Linked DNA regions of Homo sapiens: all the other regions are linked to region 2. Evidence: promoter capture Hi-C in 16 types of primary human blood cells and fetal thymus (Javierre and others, 2016). All regions are on one chromosome and are shown on one strand. The core of a region is centred on a gene start or on the middle of the fragment in contact, and the rest is flanking DNA. Distances in the headings are between cores, read along the strand shown. Region 1 overlaps ATG16L1 (autophagy related 16 like 1). Region 2 holds the start of NGEF (neuronal guanine nucleotide exchange factor). Region 3 overlaps DGKD (diacylglycerol kinase delta).

Region 1 (3,049 bases), core at 1-2,500, 270 kb before region 2:
TAGAACCTAATAGGCACTGTGCCAGGTGCTGGGGGTACAAAGATGATTAACGCCCAGACACTTGTCCTCAGGTAGTCAGCTCTCAGCTTAGTAAAAGAAACAGATATAGACCACCACCGTGCCATAGAATAGGTTTGCACAAGATGCTGGGAACATAGACACTCAGCCCACCCAGGAATGTGAACAAGGCTCCCCAGAGATGACAATCAAGATAAGGACTCTTGGTAGATGAGGACGCTACCTTGGCCTCACCCAGTCATCACCTCCACCCAAGCTCCTGCACTCGCCCAGCCCAACCTCCTCTGCTCCCTCTGCCTGTGGTGTCCGTCCCTGGCTTTTTGCCTCTGACCTTTGATTATCTTTAGATCTGCTTTAAATGCCTTACTATGGCCCCTAACCCTTGCCCCAGAATGAGCTACTCTCTCATCAGTATTTCCTTTCTACTCCACACACATCTCAGCCATAACTCAGCACAACGCTTTGCAGTTTAATGCTTTCCCATCACTCTCATTTAGATGGCGAATCTCGGAGGGTAGAGACCACGCTGGCCCCTGGAGTACAGCATCTATACACTCAAAATACAACTATTAAGTGAAATTATACAAAGTACTGAGTAACATCACAAGCCTAATGCATGAAGCAGAACCCAAGGGTTTATCAGAGTTGATACAGCAATTAACCCTATAATCTATTTCCATCTTTCTTTAACATGGATTTGGCTTAAGATACAGAGAATGGCAGAGAAATCGGGTAAGTTATGTTATAATTTCAAGAACCTAATGTCTTAAATTATTTCTAAAAACCTTTAAAATCATAGCTATTCAATACTTACAGCACTATCAAATTCAATGCTTGTAATTCCTGCATTACTGCCAGATAGGGAACCCTTGAACTCACATTTTTCTGTATAAAAAGAAAAAATTAGGATGATGGGAAGTTAAATAAAGCCAATAAATACATTAAAACAGGGCACTGAAATACAATGGAAGCCAATTACACTGCTAAAACAATAGCTATCCTGTACCTTTACAGAATCAAACAAAATAGCAGGACAAAGAGAACATGAGAGATAAAAGATACTGCTAGTTTCTAAGAGGAATGCAAGTCTAAGTGGACACTGACCCCAGCATCTTGGATGTGTGTTCTGTTCTTTAAGAAATGTAGTTATTCATTCTCTTTAGAAAAACAAAGTGTAGGAATTTATAAACCATGTCAATCAAACTAGAGACTGGGTTTATTCAGTTCCACTATTTCTCAGTACATTTTAAAAACTTACATACATAAATATTTGGGTTGATCAGCATTTGTGCCAACTTAACTACCACTTTTGTAGAAACTGGCAGTCAATTTCTGGACCCATGGTGTGGTAATTTTCATTAAGGTGTGAAAAGAAATTGTGTTAGTTACATTTAAATGACTACTCATATAGAATACCAGTCAAGCTAGTTTGGAGTTTCTGGAATTTGCCCTCATACTTTATCTCCATGAATCTAAGATCCTGGCAAGCGAACTAAGTGCCAGCACCTCCCATCCCTCTACACAGCTCTCCCTCACCAACAGAGCCACTGTCCACTTTATCTACTCTGCTTCCAGACAGCCTGGCCACCCACACGGAAATTTCAGTAACGGGCAATCCCAAACTGAGAAGAGCAAAAATCTCAATGATTTGATTAAATTCCTTTTAAAAGGGTAACTTAAGGATGATCCACACAGATAAGCTAGAAATTAAGGAACCATTGTAATCATATTTGTAAAAGAGGAACACAGAACAGAAAACATTTCAACACATTTTTATCTTATTCAGTACTTCTAAGTAGTAAAAATAATGATTGGAGCCAGATATCAAGGTGACACGAATACTGGTTTGAAGCTGTCATGTACATTCAGGCCACAGACTGTTAACCTGGTTGATGAACCTCTCCTCTGAACTCACTTGCAAAATACAGCATATTTAATGGCTTTTTCTGGATCCTAGCTTTCTTAAGATTTTCAAAAGGGTTGAAAAAGGCTAATATTCGCTAAGATTTTCCTTTAGATGAAATCTTCACAGATAAAAATATTACTGCAAATTCTAAGAAATATCTCTTTGGCTTATGCTTAAAATACTGGTCTATTTGCTTGGCACTTAACACAGTGCCGAAATGTAGGAAGTGACCAAAAAATTAATGCTATTCAATATGAGAGATTGATCTCAAAAGAACAAAGACCGTATTAAAACTCTTAATTATCTACAAGATACGGGGTTGGGGGCGGGGGGTGCTATGTCAACAGCATTTGTATAATTCCCAGTGGAACTTCTGCTTTGGAGAAAATGAGCAAAAACAGATGTTCCCACTGGGTAGAAAGTGTGATTCTTCTGATAATCTAAAAGGATGAAAAAACAGGACCCCCAAACTATTTCAGAAAAGGTCTCTTGAACTTGGCCTCTTCCAAGATTCAGTAAATAAATATTTGCCAAGACGAAAAATCTTGTAGACTGAAACAGCTGTTTGTAGAAGAAAGGCCCTACACAAAACTGTAAGAAATGCCGCCACACATTCTGCTATTTCTGTAGATTAGGTAGAAACTTGATTTTATTAACACAAATTATGTGCTGGCACAGATTATGTCAGTATTAACTTCAACTGATGTTCGTTTCTTTTCAGCCGCAAAAAGGTTACTAGAATTAAAGGTTGGTACCTCTAATTTTCTTATAGGTGTTTTTACTGACCAAGGAGTAAAACGAAAATATTTCTAGTGTTATTTTTATTTAAATCTCAATGGCATACTCAAAACAGACTGTTTACTTTGATTTTGCAAATCAAATTCCCTAAAATTTCCTTTTTTAAAAGACACAGGGTCTTGCTCTGCTGCCCATGCTGGAGTGCAGTGATGCGATCAGAGCTCACAGCAGCCTCTCACTCCTGGGCTCAATTGATCTTCCCACTTCAGCTTCCCAGGAAGCTGGGACTGCAAGTGCATGCCAACACACCCAGCTACTTTTTAATATTTTTTTTGTAGAGGCAGGGTCTCATTTTGTTGCCCAGGCTGGTCTTGAACTCCTGGCCTC
Region 2 (3,211 bases), core at 425-2,924:
GAGTAGATGGTTGGGTGGATGGATGGATGGATGGATGGATGGATGGATGGATGGATGGATGGTTGGATGGATAGATGGTGGGTGGATGGATGGATGGAAGGGTGGGTGGATGGATGGGTGGGTGGATGGAAGTGTGGATGGGTGGATGGATGGGTGGATGGGTGGATAATGGATGGATGGATGGGTGGATGGATGGGTGGATGGGTGGATGATGGATGGATGGGTGGATGGATGGTGGATGGATGGATGGACGGATGGATGGGTGGATGGGTGGATGGATGGGTGGATGGGTGGATGGATGGGTGAGAGAATAGATGAGAGACTACTTCAATCTGGCTTTCAGGGACAAAACTGAAACCCATGTTTTGTGGCAATCAGATGGCTGTGGGAACTTTCAAAGATGGCCCTCAGGGACCCCCACCCCTGGTATTGTGCCCTGTGTAATCCCCTACCTTTGAGTGTAGGCTGTGCCTGATGACTTCCTTCTAACGAGTAGAATATGCCAGAAGTGATGGAATATCACATCCTTGAGTATATTACAAAAGACTGACCTACCTCTTCCCAGACTCTCTCCATAGCCCTCTCTGATGCAACGAGCTGCCAGGGCGGAGAGGCCCACATGGCAAAGGACTGATAGTGGCCACAGCTGACAGCTGAGAGGGGCTGAGGCCTTCATCCTACAGCCCTAAGAAACTGAATCCTGCCAACACCAGCAGCTTGGAAGTGGATCCCCCCTAGTGGAGCCATGAGATGAGACCTCAGCCCCTCCAACACTTGGATGGCAACTTATGAGAAACCCTGAGCAGAGAACCCAGCCAAGCAGTGCCCAGACTTCTAGCCACAGAAACTGAGATGACAAATGAGTGTTATTTCAAGCCACACACTTTGAGTTAATTTGTTTCCAGAACAGATAGCTAAAACAAACGCTGATTTGAGTTTTATATAAAGATGGATGATGTAGCAATTAAACTTGGCAAATGATGGTAGTGGTTTTGATACTAGTTGGCTTGGGTTTGAATCCTGGATCCCCAACTTACTAGCTGTGGGGCTTTGAGCAAGATGATCAATTTCTTGAGCCTCTGTTTCTGCATCTTTAAAATGGGCATGATTCTCTGGTCATAGTGACAACACAAGGATTACATAGATTATGTAATGTACTTAGCCCAGTGCCTGTCATGTAGTAAGCACTGGATTAAAGGAAGCTATTAGAGGGAATAATAATAATAATAATAATAATAATAATAATAATAATAATGGAGCAAGATGCCTTACAAAGCAGTGAGTGTTCCATGCCTGGAAGTGATTGAGTTAAGGCCAGATGGCCATGGCAGGAAGTGACTAGAACCCTGGAGGACCCCAAAGCCTCTCCCAAATCTCAGATTTGAGGGCCGTGCAGCTGGCTTGGCCAATGCTTGGGGTTGGTGGGCCAGCTGAGCCACGGGCCCCTCTTGGTGTGACCATCAGCATTATCTTGCACTGGGCGGGCGGCGGGTATTCCAGCCATGCCCAGCCTTCCCCTCAGATAGCCCTTCCCTCCTGCACCACTTTTGTGTCAGGTATGTGGCTGCCACCCTGGCTCAACCCATGGGGCCCAGGAAGGTAAACACCCAGCCGGGAAGTGATCGTTATGGGCTCGTGGCCAGCTATGGGCCAAGGCAGGTCTAAAGGTCGGGAATGCTTACCAGTGAAGCTTTTCCAGGACAGGACGAAGTTTTTGGCTGTGGGCTCTCTGGGACAGAGTGGAGCGCCTGTGGATTTAGCCGGGGACACACCATCCTGCTCGCAGGTGCCTGGACAGGACAGGGGACGAGGGAGGAACACTCTCTGAGGAAGCCCAACTCCTATGAGCTCCTCTCTGGCAGGTGAGAGAATGGTTTTGGTATTTTTTAAAAAAATAAAATGAGATAAAACAAGAGAAGGAACAGAGGCTACCGCTAGGACAGGTAGGAAAGGAGATTACCACCCATCCATTCACTGAGGAGGAGCCCCCAAGAGAAACAGCAGCCCTGGATTCCACCCGAGGGATCCTGTCTGGTCTCGGCTTCAGCACTGCCCCTCCTGGCACTCAGTTTCACCATCTGGGAATCAGGATAAGGACTCCTTCCAGGCGCTCTTCCATTATGGCTGTGGGGTAAGTGAGATCAAAAGCAGGAATGGCTGCATAATTGCAGGGCCCTGTGCAATATAAAAATGCAGGGCCCCTTGTTAAAATAGTAAGGCTTTCAAAAGGACAACAACACAGCATTAAAGCAAGCCGGGGCACCTTCTAAGAACAGGGCCCTGTGACTGCCCAGGCCCCACACCCACGACGCCAGTCCTGATAATGAGCGTATATGTAAACGGAAGTGCCCTGATTCCTGTGTGCCATGGCACAAATCTCAGGGTCAGGAAGTGCACTTGGGAAACAGAAGTCATAGTCGTGAAGTGACAGCCCACTGCGCTTTAGCTCCCCCAGCACTGCCCCCTCCGCTCAGGGGCCCCTTTCAGAAAGACAGAAGGCCCTACCCCTCAGAACCTTCCTGATTTTTGCATCTGGCTGGCCTCAAGCCACAGCACGGTGTGACTGAAATGTGTAGGGACACAGTTTTCTTGGATGTGAAAGTGGTAGGTTCTTATTGTCTATCTTGATTTAAAATTTGGGACAGTCACACAGTCTCTGGCTGTGTAGAGGTGGGACTTGTGTTTCCTGGGCTCGTGACAGCTCTGCTATGTTCCATTGACTATCAGTGTATTTCTGCTTTTTGGGAAAATCCTTAATGCAATAAGGCCACTGGTGGGAATGTTCCAGCTTGGACACTTGCCATGTGTCTTTGTCCTCCCTGCCCCTTCTCTCTTTCTCTCTCTCTCTCTCTCTTTTTCCATTTAGGCTTCCCCTTTGCCCATGTCTCAGGCTGCCCCTTGGCACTGCTTAGCTCTGAGGAAGTAGAAGCCAGGGTCCCCTTGGGGGTCAAGCTTTCTGGTCCATGAAGGGAGACCACAGACCACCTCCCTCCACCGCACTCTCCTCCCACATCCCTTTCTGGAGCCCAAATTGTCATGGGAACCCCTCCCAGGGAGGGGATCCCCACAGGAAAGCCAGGGGTTGATCCAATGACAGTGTGAGTAACATTCCACAGCTTTCTGCCCCAGTGGGGCTGGGGACACAGATGAGGCTAGACATGGGGGAAGATGAATTGCTTTAAGAAGAGCTGATGCATGCCTGTAGTCTCAG
Region 3 (2,991 bases), core at 16-2,515, 410 kb before region 2:
GAGATTCATGTTTGCACCGAAACCTACCCAGGAATGTTTACAGCAGCTTTATTCATGATCACCAAAAGCTGGAAACTATTCGGATGCCCTTCAGGGGGTAAATGATTAACAAACTGTGGTACACCCGTGGAATACTACTCAGTAATAAAAAGGAACAACCACTGATAAGACTCATCAACCTCAATGAGGCTCCAGGGAATTACGCTGAGTGAAAAATCCAACCCCAAAGGTTACATACTATAAGATTCCATTTATATCACATCTTGAAAAGACCAAATTATAGAAATGGAGACCAGATGAGTGTTTGCCAGGGGTTACAGAGGGACATGTGTGAGGCTGTAAAAGGGCACAAGGAAAATCTCTGCGGCTTGGAGGCTACCCATCTCCACTGTAACGAGGTTAGTATCCTGGGTGTGACATTGTACTGGAGTTGTGCAAGAGGTTACCACTGCATGCAACTGGGTAAAGGGTACAAAGAATCTCAAAATAAAAGCTTTAATTAAAAATAAGTAACCACCATCAACAATATTTAAGTTTAAACTGGGAAAACCAAGGAGTAACTCCAGAACAATGCTGTGTTTCTTAAGGACAAGGGCGTATGTGGGCAGCGCAAGTTAAAAGTGTAATCTTATCTAAAGTCCTGTATTTGTAGTTAGTGCAACCCATGAAACATCTGACGCCAAGAAAATATTATGTGGACACAGCCGACACACCTTTGGTACACATTCTCAAAGAAAAGGACCAGGTCCTCTATGTCAGGAGGGGTGGGTAGAAATGCCAGCTGCCCCGCCTGTCCCTGCGCCTGAGTCCAAGCACACGCAGGAGTGTCATGGACCACGCCCTCCGGTTGAGCTGCTCATTTTGCTATGGGCTCTGACACGTGGCCTGGGTACTTGAGCCTGCACAAGGCAGGGCCCTGGAAATGGAAGGTTTCATTTCTAAACACAACAGTGCTTGAGGAATCAGTGGAGCTATGTAACCTGAGGAGCTCAGCCATGAAGAGAGGATGTCAGAATCGCAGGCTCCTGCCCTCAAACAGTAGTGCACTTCCTGGGTGGGGCGGGCCAGCCCAGCACCCACTACGGCAATACCAATGTATGCTCTGGGAGTGGCCGAGATGGTGCCAAGACAAGGCCCCAAAAGAAGCTGCCTCTGCAGCCCCACAGCCCACTGGCCATGCCCCTCGGGGGTCCTACTACACACTTAGGGGGCCTCAAGGTCCTTCTGCCACTGCCTCCCAGAGACCAGTAATTGTCCCATCCCCCCAACCTCCCAAGTCAGAAACTGCTCCCTCAACTTCACCTCCTCTCTCCTGTGCTATCTTCATCATTGGGCTCCAAATTCTTTCTTTCTTCCTCAGAAATAAATTCAGGCAGTCTTTCACTTGAGCAAACAGAAAAGATTCCTGCTCCTGCGGAAGTTACATTTGAATGCAGGCAGTAAATTAAAGACTTATTAAAGAAGTGAATTACACAGCATGGAGAGTAGTAGCTGGTGACAAGCCCTATGGAAAAACGGGAGACCAGAAAAGAGAGGTCTGGGGGCCAGGGGACTCCACAGCAAAAACGGGGAGGAGGCGAGGAAGGAGCCAGAGACTGGAAGGAAGCAAGGAAGGAGGTGGGAAGGGCTGAGCAGAAGCAGGCGCGTGGTGCGTGGCTGGGGCTGGCATCAGGAAGGGGGCCAGGGGCCAACCTGCAAGCATCAGGACCACAGAGGGCCATGCAGGTGTAAGAACTTTGGCTTTTACTCCACGTAAAATAAGAAGCCATGCAAGCTCAAGTTTTGAAAGCATCATTCTGGTTGCTTTATTGAAAGCTGACAGTAAGATGCAGGAAAGAAGGCAGGAAACCTTTTGGGAGGCTCCTCAGTAACCCCATCACGAGATGATGGTGAGGAGAGTGGGCAGGCTCTGGATGTGCTCTGAGGACAGCAGACGGGACAGGGTGAGACAGAGAGGAGTCCACAGTGACCTCCGAGCAGCTGGCTGGGTGCTGCTCCCATCCCAGGAAGGGGACACTGTGGGTGGAAGCAAGCTTTACAGCTGGGGTGGCGGCAGGGCCAGCAGGTCCGTGTGGACATGCTGAGGGCACGGTGTCGATTAAAGTCTCAGCAATGTCCAATGTCTTATCTCACTCATGAGGTCTTCATCTTGCCCTCAGTTTGGTATGTTAAAAAAGAAAAACTTAAAGACACTATAGAAATGAGATCACTCATACGTGACCACTGCTGCTGATAGTTCTGGAGGTAATTTGACGATCACCAGTCAAGCTGAAGATGCACACACCTGGCAATTCTATCCTTAGAAACACATTCTAGAGAAACTCTTGCCCATGTGCCAAGAAGACGAAGATAAGCATATTCACAGCAGCACTACTGATCACAGGGAATCTGGGAAAGTGTACGTCCACAACAGGACGTCTTAGGTACTGGAACACTACAGAGGCCACGAAAACCAGCATCGTGGGCCTCAACTCAGGCCGCGCCTGTCAGGAGCTCTGCGGTTCATGCCTCGTTCCCCAGAAATTCTGATTTAACTCCAGGAATCAGGAATCAGTTGTATTAAACCTTGAACCATTTAACTAAAGCTAGATGTAGCCACAGGGATAAATCCAGGAAGCGTAATGCTGTGGCTGTCCAGTCTGATAACATTTATTCGACATTTCAGAACCAGTTCAACAATGCTATATACTGTTTATGCCTACACACACTTATCAAAAAAGTATATAAACATGAAAACAAATGACAAACACCAAAGTTAGGATGCCCCCAGGGAAGGGGGAGCAGGAAGAAACGAGGATAGGAAAGAGAATTCCAAGTGCCTCTGTTATATCTATTATGTTTATTTCTCAGGCTGGAAGCAGTCATAGCTGGGTTCATGTGTTACTTTTTGAATGTTTTAAATGTTTTGGCACAAAAATATGCTAACATGCCCAAGCCAGAACTAGAGACACACACAATATAGCCATGCCCTATATTTGTAGTTTAGCCATA

Evidence for each region. Contacts are between HindIII fragments. The CHiCAGO score rates a contact against its expected background, and 5 or more counts as called.
Region 1: a contact is called between a fragment that was not itself captured here and the fragment with the promoter of NGEF in region 2, in 1 of 17 cell types (neutrophils). The highest score is 5.1, in neutrophils.
Region 3: a fragment that was not itself captured here is called in contact with the fragment with the promoter of NGEF in region 2 in 1 of 17 cell types (neutrophils); the score reaches 5.3 in neutrophils.

What each region holds. Positions count from the first base shown.
Region 1 is chr2:233,278,959-233,282,007 of GRCh38, reverse strand. ATG16L1 (autophagy related 16 like 1) reads right to left here. Exons shown (of 18, transcript NM_030803.7): 11 at 833-903. Among named protein-coding and RNA genes, the nearest start is that of SAG, 27 kb to the left of the region's middle. The HindIII fragment of the contact is 5,263 bases long and covers 1-3,049 here.
Region 2 is chr2:233,011,719-233,014,929 of GRCh38, reverse strand. NGEF (neuronal guanine nucleotide exchange factor) reads left to right here and starts at 1,674. Exons shown (of 15, transcript NM_019850.3): 1 at 1,674-1,862. It overlaps LOC101928881 (a long non-coding RNA gene), which reads right to left and starts at 2,316. Exons shown (of 3, transcript NR_136325.1): 1 at 1,961-2,316; 2 at 1,683-1,790. The HindIII fragment of the contact is 3,625 bases long and covers 1-1,692 here.
Region 3 is chr2:233,420,260-233,423,250 of GRCh38, reverse strand. The region is part of intron 3 of DGKD (diacylglycerol kinase delta); the gene reads right to left. Among named protein-coding and RNA genes, the nearest start is that of DGKD, 67 kb to the right of the region's middle. RefSeq lists an enhancer at 914-1,063. The HindIII fragment of the contact is 1,540 bases long and covers 496-2,035 here.